2 separate regions of the Homo sapiens genome follow, and region 1 is linked to region 2. The links are contacts of gene promoters, found by promoter capture Hi-C in human tissues and cell types (Jung and others, 2019). All regions are on one chromosome and are shown on one strand. Each heading gives the region's core, a stretch centred on a gene start or on the middle of the fragment in contact. The rest is flanking DNA. Distances are from core to core; before and after follow the strand shown.

The links. The method cuts DNA at HindIII sites, captures the fragments that hold promoters and counts their contacts. A contact is called where the count stands out against the background at its distance.
Region 1: a fragment that was not itself captured here is called in contact with the fragment with the promoter of INSL6 in region 2 in 1 of the 25 tissues and cell types used here (lymphoblastoid cells).

The regions. Positions count from the first base shown.
Region 1 is chr9:5,407,481-5,413,159 of GRCh38, forward strand. All of the region lies in intron 3 of PLGRKT (plasminogen receptor with a C-terminal lysine), which reads right to left. Among named protein-coding and RNA genes, the nearest start is that of PLGRKT, 28 kb to the right of the region's middle. The HindIII fragment of the contact is 4,898 bases long and covers 1-4,671 here.
Region 2 is chr9:5,183,566-5,189,013 of GRCh38, forward strand. It overlaps INSL6 (insulin like 6), which reads right to left and starts at 2,074. Exons shown (of 2, transcript NM_007179.3): 1 at 1,749-2,074. The coding sequence starts at 2,037. The HindIII fragment of the contact is 6,352 bases long and covers 1-2,899 here.

The DNA of each region.
Region 1 (5,679 bases), core at 973-3,472, 220 kb after region 2:
TATCTTTATAACCTTATTGACTAGCACAGGGCCTGGCATATTGTCAGGGCTTTAAAAAGTGTTGAGTAAATAAATTAGTATTACAATATTCTATTTGGGGTTCTATCCATAACATAAACATGTCTGATTACACCTCTAGACAGCATTCTAATGTTGTTCTTACAAATTTTTCAAAAAAAAAAAAATTCTGAAGCATTGCTTTGCAAATCCACACCTAAAGTGATAACTCAAGAACAGGAGAAGTGGAGAATTTGGAGACTTTACCCTAAAAACCCTAGGAACCAAGTTAGATAGGATCTTGAAATAATTGGCTTAAAAATAGTAACATTTGACCTTAAAACCATAATTTTAAAAGAAAAGCAAAATGCTATTGCCACTCTTAATTGCATCTGTAACTATGTGTGTGTGTGTCTGTGTGTGTATGACTGATATTAGCATTTAATGCTGCCATTTTCAAGTACTACTACAAAGGTTTAGTGTTTCATTGCCTAATCTGTATATAGACAACTCTATTGTAAGTCCAGGACATGGAATTTAACAGAAGCCCACCAAAGACATGTAGAAATTTTCTCTGAGGGAATAACTGGTCTAAATTTGGAGGGGCAAGAAAAAAAGTTTTATTTTAGATTATATTTTGCTATAAAATCATATTATCTTGTTCACACTGAAAGTGGCTTTCGAACTGTGAAATGGGCAGAGGTTGGAAGAGTGTGGAGGGCTCAGAGGAAGACAGAAGGATGACGGAAAGTTGGATCTTCCTAGAGACTTGCTGAATGGTTGTGACCCAAATGCTGATAGTGATATGGACAGAGATGGCCAGGTGGATGAGGTCTCAGATGGAAATGAAAAACCTATGGGAAGCGGAGCAGTCACTTCTCTTAAGCTTTAGCAAAGAGCCTGGCTGCACTGTGCCCCTGCCAAGGGATATGCGCAACTTCGAGCTTGAGAGTGATGATTTACGGTATCTGGTGGAAGAAATTTCTAACCAGCAAAACATTTGAGATGTAGACTGGCTGCTTCTAGCAGCCTAGGCTCATATGCACAAGCAAAGAAATGACCTAAAACTGGAACTTATATTTAAAAGGGAGCATAAAAGTTTACAAAATTTGTAGCATAGCCATGTGGTAGAAAAGAAAAGCCCATTTCTGGGTGAAGAATTCAAGCAGGCTGCATCAATTTGCATAAGTAAAGAGGAGCCAAGTCTAATAGTCAAGACAATAAAGAAAAGGCCTTGAAGACATTTCAGAGACCTTTGCAGCAGCCCCTCCCATCACAGGCCCAGAGGCCTAAGAGGACAGAATGGTTTCCTGGGCCAGGCCCAGAGCCCCACTTCCCTGCACAGCCTTGGGACACTGTTCCCCCACATCACAGTCACTCCAGCTCCAGCTTCAGGTCAGATACAGCTCAGATACAGATACAGCTCTGGTCACTGCTTCAGAGGGTGCAAGCTGTAAGTCTTGGCAGCTTCCATGTGATGCTAAGCCTGTGAGTATGCAGCGGATAAGAGTTGAGGCTTGGGAGCCTCTTCCTAGATTTTGGAGGATGTATGGAAAAGTCTGGATGTCCAGGCAGAAGCCTGCTGCAGGGGGAGATTCCTCATGGAGAACCTCTATTAGAGCAGTACAGAGGGGAAATATGGGGTTGAAGCCCCCACAAAGATTCCACTGGGGCACTGTGATGGTTAATACTGAGTGTCAACTTGATTGGATTGAAGGATGCAAAGTATTAATCCTGGGTATATCTGTGAGGGTGTTGCCAAAGGAGATTAACATTTAAGTCAGTGGGTTGGGGAAGGCAGATCTACCCTTAATCTGGATGGGCACCATCTAATCAGCTGCCAGTGAATATAAAGCAGGCAGAAAGACGTGAAAAGGTTAGACTGGCGTAGCCTCCTGGCCTACATCTTTCTCCCGTGCTGGATGCTTCCTGACCTTGAACATCGGACTCCGAGTTCTTCAATTTTGGAACTCGGACTGGCTATCCTTGCTCCTTAGCCTGCAGATGGCCTATTGTGGGATCTTGTGATCGTGTGAGTTAATACTTAATAAACTCCCCTTTATATATATACCCAGAGTGGTAGATCCACTGACAGCTCAGACCCTGCTCCTGGAAAAGCCACAGACACTCAACACCAGCCCATGAGAGCAGTTGTGGGGGCTGAACCTTGCAAAGCCACAGGGATGGAGCTGCCCAAAGCCTTGGGAGCCCATCCCTCACACCAGTGTGCGCTGGATGTGGGACATGAAGTCCAAGAAGATCAGTTTGGAGCTTTAAGGTTTAATGACTGCCCTGCTGGGTTTTAGATGCATGGGGCCTGTAGCCCCTTTATTTTGGCCAAATTCTCCTATTTGGAATGAGAGTGTTTACCCAGTGTATCTTGGAATACCTCCAATGTATCTTGGAATAATGAAATTCTAACTTTTTTTTCCAGAAACATTCTAAGGCATGGCTTTTCAAATTCTTATCTAAGAACAAGCATAGGAGAAGTGGGACCTGGAGAAATTTTTACCTTTAAAAACCCTAGAAACCAAGCATATAAGATGATAAAATGATTGCTTTTAAAATAATAAAATAATATTTTGACTTTAAAACTTTATTTTTAAAAGCAAGAAAAATTGCTATTACTGGCCTTAATTGTACCTATTCATTTTTCTATTTGTGACTGAAATAAGCATTTAAGGTGATCATTTTCAAGTATAAAAGTTTACACTACATTATACAATCTGTGCAATCAACCTCACTATAAACTCAAGACATAGAAATTAACAGAAGTGGGTGGGCACAGTGGCTCATGCCTGTAATCCCGGCACTTTGGGAGGCTGAGTCAAGTGGATCACTTGAGGTCAGGAGTTTAAGACCAGCCTAGGCAACATGGTGAAACCCCCATCTATACTAAAAAAAAGTTCAAAAATTAGCTGACATGCTCACTTGAACCCAGGAGGCAGAGGTTGCAGTGAGCAGTGGGCCAAGATCGTGCCACTGCACATCAGCCTGGGTAACAGAGCAAGACTCTGTCTCAAAAAAAAAAAAAAAGGAAAAAGAAAGAAAAAAGAAAAAGAAATTAACAGAAGTCACCAAAATCATGTTGAAATCATAATTAAGGCAATAAGCAGTTTAAGCAGGCAGGGTTGGGAAAATTATGTTTTAGATTATGCTTCTCTATAAAAAATGAATTAATTTGTTCATACTGAAACTTTGTCTAACACTATTGTCTGTTGCATAGCTCTTGGAATAAGGCAGATCCACAGTAGAAAATTAAAACGTTTCACTTCTAGTACAGGTTTATGGCCTGTACCACAGAGAAAGATTAGAAATGGCATCAGTATATCAAATAAGCGTTTACAAATGAACAATAAAATTTTGTCTCCATTTTTTAAAGCACAGCCTTTTACCTTGAGACCAATACACAACACTCTAGATGAAATAAATCAGCATTATTTACTTCAGCTTGATATAATATTAATTGTTATATGGCTAAACAAAATGGGTATTTGTATGATAATATTTAGCTTAACTTACTCTCTGGTTATGTATATAATGAAACTAGAGATGAAAGAAAAAATGGAGTAGTCATCATGAGCAAATAAGAGAAAAGAAAGCAGACAAGAAAAGATGGAAACAGGCCAGTTGCGGTGACTCACGCCTGTAATCCCAACACTTTGGGAGGCCGAGGCAGGTGGACCACCTGAGGTCGGGAGTTTGAGATCAGCCTGGCCAATATGGTGAAACCCCGTCTCTACTAAAAATACAAAAATTAGCCGGGCCACAGTGGCATGCGTCTATAATTCCAGCTACTCAGGAGGCTGAGGCAGGAGAATCACTTGAACCTGGGAGGCAGAGGTTGCAGCGAGCCAAGGTTATGCCACTGCACTCCAGCCTGGGAGACAGAGCAAGACCCTGTTTCAAAAAAAAAAAAAAAGAAAAGAAAAGAAAAGAGGGAAACACTATTGAGCATCTACTCTGCTACATGAACCAATTCTTGGGTATCCTTCTCCCCATCTTAGAGATGAAGAAGCCAGACTCAGAGAGCCTGTGTCACTTATCCATGGTTACTGAACCAGTAAGTGATAGAGTCAGGTTCGGACACAGGTATATGTGACTCCAAAGCCTGTGAACCTGCAAGTGCACACAAAGAAGAATGAATCCACAGCCCTCAGTAGCCATACCATGACGTTAAGCCACTGCTAACACATCCTCTTGCTGGCTAGGTAAGAAATCCAACTATAAGAATATATTTCCAATTACTGACAAGATATTACAGTTTTAAATTTAACTTAAAATTTCATTTTTTCTTTAGTTTAGCCTACAGTTTATTTATAAGCTTCTGGAAGACATTAAAATAGACTTAAACAAATGGAAAAACATTTCCTATTCTTGAATAAAATGACTCAATAGTTCTTCACAAATAAACTTATAAGTTAATACAATCCCAATGAAAAATATCAACAGACTATTTTATACTTGGGCATGTTGATACCAAAATTTCTGTGGAAAATCAAACATGAAAGATTATCCAAGAAAACATTGAAAAAGAAAAACTACAATGGTATAGTAGCCTCAACAAGCATTAAACCATACTAAAAAGTGTCTATAATTAAAACATTACAATACTAGTACATGACTAGACAAACTGACCAGTGAATTAGAGTGTCCAGAAACAAATGCAAGTACATACAGAGACTTAGTATGTGATACAGGTAGTATCTCAACTCACTGGGGGTAAAGATAGACTTCTTAATAAGTGGTATAGGTACCACAAGGTAGCCGTCTGAAAAAGATAAAACTAGATCCCTATCTCATATCATATATGAGAATAAACCCCAAATGGATTTGGAATCTAAATGTCAATAAATGAAGCTATACAAGTTGCTATGGTTTGAATGTGTCCCCCCAAAGTTCATGTGTGGGAAACTTAATCCTTTATCCTCATGAATGAATAAATGCTGGCTCTGCCCTCATGAATAAATTAATGTCCCTATCATGAGAGTAGGTTTGTTATCATGGCTTTGTTATAAAACCAAGCTTTCTTGGGCTTGCTTGCTCTGTCTTATCATATGATGCTTCCCGCCATGTCCTGATGCAGAAGGAAGGAGACTTCCCAGCCTCTAGAACCATGAGCTAAATCAATCTCTATTCTTTATAAATCACCCAGTCTGTATATTGGATTATAGCAACAGAAAATGAACGAAGACAAAAGTACCACAGGAAACAAGGATAACTGTGGTATAGGGAAAAGCTTTCTACATCAAGAATCAAAATGTAGAGTAAATAAAATATTGGTAACTTGACCACATAAAACTAAACTTTTTTTCATGGTGTAAAAATTTTTAAACCACCGTAAACAAGTGACAATCTGAGATAAAATATTAGGAAGATATATCCATAGACAAGAGGCCAATACTCCTAATATTCAAAGAACACTTGAGGGACAGTAGACAAGAGACCAATAAACAGAAAATTCACAAAAAAAACAAGATATATAAATGGCCCTCAAATGTGAGAAAATGTTCAAACTCACTCATAATTAAAGAAAAGCAAATTAAAGCAAGACTGAGATACCACTTCTTGCTTGTCAGGCTAGCAAAAACTAAAAAGCAAGACAACATACTTTGTTGGTGAGACTTTGGGAAAATAGCCACTTTCAAATTGATAAACCCTTCTGAAGAGAAACGTAGCAAT
Region 2 (5,448 bases), core at 824-3,323:
ACTTTGTTGAGAAAAGGCATTCCAACCTCTCTTTAAATAACAGCCTCAAGCTTGGAGGTCTAAAAATAAAATTTTGACTACAGTATTATAGCATAGGTAGTGAAAGCACAGTATTTGATGTGAGAGAAATGCCCACCCAACATAAAGCAGAAAGGGAAGGCTCTCCTTGCACTCCTGGGAGAAAAGAACAAGAAAGAGGAGTTTAAAAGAAAAAAAAAAGAGAGAGACAGACAGTAAACTGGACCTTGTTACTCAAAAGTGTGGGCCACGAACTAGCAGCACCTGGGAGCTAGTTAAAAACGAAAAATATCAGGCCCCACCCCAGGTCTACTAACTCAGAGTCGGTAAATTAACAGGATTCCCAAATGATTCATATGCACATTAAAGCGTGAGAGTCACTGAACTAAAGTAAAAGTAGAAGACTGGGGAGAGACACTTCCTTCATTATAACAGAAGGACAAGGTGAGGTTTGTATGTGGGTTAGTTTGATGGGTCGGTTTGAAAATGATCATGAATCAGTCTCATGGTTTCTGTCTTTAAAAGTTTTTATTCTTTCAGCAACAGTGACTTTATAAATTCTATTCATTCATTCCAAAAAAGCTAATGAGTGCCTACAATGTGCATTGTTTGACTTTTTTCAGTCCTCTACATTAGGGTCTCTTTTTGGCATGATAGTTTACTCATTTCCTTAATTTCAGAAATCTTCACTTTTACAAGATTTGTCCAAATCAAATCAACTGAATTACTGTAAAAGGCAGTAATCTTCTTCCTATGGATACACTATAAACAAAGTGCAATTTCTTTTAAAATGACAAATCATACTGGGACTAAAATGTCTTAGTCACAAAATGTAAAAACATAGTAAGATATACCAATGAATCTGGAACAAGAATATCCTTCCTGCAGACTGCTTGAAAGCATCAAGTATAAATTCAGCGCATATTAAACACATGCGATGTGCTAGGCCATCTGCTAAGCATTTCAGACAAAAATATGCATGAAATAGTCCCTATAATACAGTATGGTATATAGGGCTGACTTTATGGGACTGAAACCTATGTAGTCACACAGGCCTTGCATTTGGTTTAAATGTTCCTTTGTTGTTCTGAATAAATTTACCTTTGAAACTTTAAGTGAATGAAATACAAGTACGTAAACTCTTAAATGAAGCCTGATAGGAGAACGGACCAGGCCTATCTCCTGGTACGTGACCAGGGGATATGGACAAGTAAGGAAAACAGTTTTATATTTTACTACCTTTATTTTCATGGCCCTTTCCTGCTTTTTTGAACAAGGTACTCTGCATTTTTATCTTCTACAAGGTTGGGCTGATTCTGTAGCCAATGACGACAGTCAAATACAACTATGTGCTAGATACTGTGGTAGAAAGGACAATGGAGCCATTGGCCATGAAAAGGTCAATGATGACTTCACAGGGAAAATGATACTTAAGTTGGGCTTTGAAGGACAAAAAGGAGTTTGCCAGATGACTGGCACTCCAGAAAAGAACAACATTCTTACATAAATATGTAGACTTACAAGTGTACATTTATTTCCTCCAAGTTAAAAAAAAAAGCGCTTCATTGAAGTTTTGTATATTTTCAATACACTGTTTTTTACAATTTTTTAAAGAGCTGTGTACTAGGCACAAATTCCACTTCCTGGGGAAGCTCACCTTCTGGCAGAGCAAATGCAGGAATAAGAAATATACAGAGGTGAACAAACATGCCTTCGGTTTCGATTTTTACCTGGGTTTGTGCCTCTTCCCCGGGCCGGGGAAGCGGTTTGCGGGCTTTCGAACTGGTATGGGCTGTAGGCTTCGACCTTCTCCGAGGCCTGTGCAATCAACCGTGAGAAAGGGGTTTCCTCCTCGAAACGGAACTGGCTCCAGTTGGCATGGCCGCAGAGTTTTTCTATTTCTTTCACCAAGTACCTGCCGCACAGCTTCCTGGCACTGCTGATGTCGCTCAGTTCACGAGAAAACCGAACCAGCAGGAGTCCAAGCCACAGCAGGGACAAGCGGAGGAGCCGCGGCATCCCTGTGACCCCAGGCTAGTCCTCCGCGTTGTGCAATGGCGGTCGGCCGGACCCTGCTCCCTGTCTGCGCCTGCGCCAGGCCGAGCGGCGCGCACAAACACTGCGGAATTCCGAGCGCGTGGGGGCGTCGCCAGAACTTCAAGGGAAGGCGCGCGCCGGCTGCGTCAAGGCTTTCCCGCCAGCTCAGGGGTCTCAGGTGGTCGAAGGTAGCAGGCCCTGGCTCCTAAAATGAAAGCCAAAAATCCCCTCACTACCCCGCCACCCCCTAGTTTGATTCATTTTTCTTTCCTTCCTCAATGGGAGATTCCTCACCAAGCGTGAGAACATAGGATCCCTGTTACCTGATAACGTAGGTTAAAAAGTGTTGCTCCCTCCACCTGGAATGCGTTTCTCGTTCTTGTTTGCCAGGTTGTTAATAAAGCTTCGTCTCCCTCACAGAAACCCCCTGTCATCTCTTTCACGGTGTTAATCGACCTGTTTCCATTTGTGGGCGTGTAACCTCTTTCCTGAGACCCCCGCTTCATGAAGGCAAGGGCCTGCGTCTGTTCTTGCTTTCCATCGTACCCCGGGATCTGGCATTTAGCTGGCAATCAAATATGTGGTGAAACGTTTAAGTGTTGCATATGGCCATGTGCGTTTAGTCAGGTTCAAAGCTTCTTCAGAAAAATCCTACTGGTTCACAGGGAGGCATGGGCCTTAGCCTCAATCTCCAGAAAAAAGAAGTAGGGACGCTGTCTTGAGGTACCTGGGATGGAAATCTGGTTCTTTCGGTTAGATAATGTAGAGGATTGTGTATTACCAAATTAACTTGTGACAGGGACCCCTAGAGGATTTGCCTTGTAAGAATAACAGCATGCAGCATGAAATGCTCATTTAGGTGAGATAATTTTGCTCAGTTAGGAGGGAAGGGGCAGGGAAGCGAAGCGCAATCGGCATAGGTAGCTTTATCATTTTAAATGAAGTTCTGTGTTACTAGTGTGTTGGCGTGGAAGGATGTACTATCGGCCACAAGAGGGCATTCGGTGGCTGTCTCAGGAATAAGGTTCAGGATGCTGAAGCCACAGGTGCAAGCTTATCAGTGATCTCACCATTTCCCTATACAATTTTATTTTTTTCTCCCTTTCTTTTCTGTCTTCTGACTCTATGTCTTTTTCTTAATTTTCCGTTTCCCTATCTTTTCCCTGCTTCCCAGTGGCATCCATGAATGCTGTTAAATTAACTGCCAATTGGATTTTTTAAATGGTTGATATAATATAGATTAGTAAAATTTAATCACCTTCCTTAAAAAATAACTTATGTCCAAACTATAGTGGGCCATGAGTCCTAGTCAGAACTTTATCAGGTAAGGTTTTTGAGAACGGAAAATATTAATCATACTGAGATGAATGTAAGCCTTGTGGTAACCACAAGGCAAAACCTATAGTAGATATATAAAAGATAAAAAAGAAGAAATCAAGCATACCACTACAGGATATCATCTAATCACAAAGAGAACAAGAGAAAAAGAAAAGAACAAAGGATCTACAAAATAACCACTAAACAATTAACAAAATGCAGTAGTAAATTCTAACCCATCAATAACTACTTTGAATGTAAATGGATTATGTTCTTTGATCAAAAAACAGGGCTGAATGGATAAAAAAAAAAAGACTCAACTATATACTGCCCACAAGAGACTCATCAAAAGACTTGAACTATACTTTGGAACAAGTGGAGCTAACAGATATTTATGGGACATTCCATCCAACAGCAACAGAATACGCATTCTTCTAAAATGCACAGAGAACATTCACCAGAATAGATCATATGTTATGCTACAAAGCAAGTCCTAATAAATTTAGAAGAATAAAATAATATCAAATATCTTTTCTGGCCACAATGGAATGAAAGTAGAAATCAATAAAAGGAGGAACTTTTGAAAACTCACAAATATGTGGAAATTAAAGAACATGTTCCTAACTACCAGTGGGTCAAAGAAGAAATATAAAGGGAGTTTAAAAAATATCTTGAGACAGGCTGGGCTCAGTGGCTCATGCCTGTAATCCCAGCACTTTGGGAGGCTGAGGTGAGTGGATCACTTGAGGCCAAGAGCTCAAGACCAGCCTGGCCAACATGGTGAAACCCTGTCTCTACTAAAAATACGAAAAATTAGTCAGGTGTGGTGGCAGGCACCTGTAATCCCTGCTGCTCAGGAGGCTGAGGCAGGAGAATGGCTTGAACCTGGGAAGCGGAGGTTGCAGTGAGCTGAGAGGGCATCACTGCACTCCAGCCTGTGTGACAGAGTGAGACTCCATCTCAAAAACTCCAAAATGGAAACACAACATACCAAAATTTATGGTATGCAGCAAACACAGTGCTGAGAGAGAAGTTTATAGTAATAAGCACCTATGTCAAAAAAGATCTCAAATAAACAACTTAACATTGTATTTCAAGGAACTAGAAGAACAAAGTAAGCCCAAGCTTAGCAGAAAGAAGAAAATAACGAAAGTCCAACAAAAAAATTTTAAAAATAGAGGCTAGCAAAACAATAGAAAAGTTTAACAAAACTAAAGTTGGTTCTTTCAAAAGATGACCAGGATTAGGGACCCACTTAAATAAGCAATCTAGCTGCCCCTTGGCAGGGTGGATGTGCTGCACTGGTGGGAATCCCCCTTGTCTGGGCTGCCCTTACTCTTCAGAGCCAGCAGGCAGAAAAGACTAAGATGGCTGATCCACAATACCACAGCCACTTCTCCTCCCAGGGGCTCCTCTCAGGGATATCAGAGTTCTGTCCATGAACCCCTGGCTGGGGATGCTGAGATTCCCATAGCGGGGGCCCCTGCCTGGTGAGGAGGAGTGGATCAGGATCCTGCTTAAAGAAGCAGTCTGGCTACAAACTGACCCAGCAGCTGTGCTGCACTCTGGGGAATTGCTCCCAATTCAGACTGCTGAGTCTCGTTGGCACCAGTGGCATGGGAAAACTGTGGACTGCAGCCATAGTGATGGCAGCACCCCCTCACTCCCACGAACTCAGTCTTTTTAGGCAGTCTGTAGCCTGCCGTGCTGGCCAGAGAGGATTCTAAGCCAGTAGGTTTTAGCTTGTGGGGTTCCGTGGGAGCAAGACCTCGTGGATCCCTGGCTTCAGCTCCCTTCCCATGGGAGTGGGTGGATCTCCTGCATCGCGGGAGTTTCCAAAGCTGAAGTATGCAAATATTCCTGTGTCTCAGTGCCTGCTCTAGTGGCCACCCACCCCAGCCACCATCATGAGTCTGTACAGCTTTGTGCTTGTGATCCAAGTCCCTCGTGGCATGGACTCACAAGGGGACCTCCTGATCTGCAGGTTGCATTGATCCATGGCAAAAGTGTGGTTTTCAGGGTAGGGTAGCACAATCCATCACTGCCCCAGATGGCTGGGGGAGGGAGTTCCCTTTG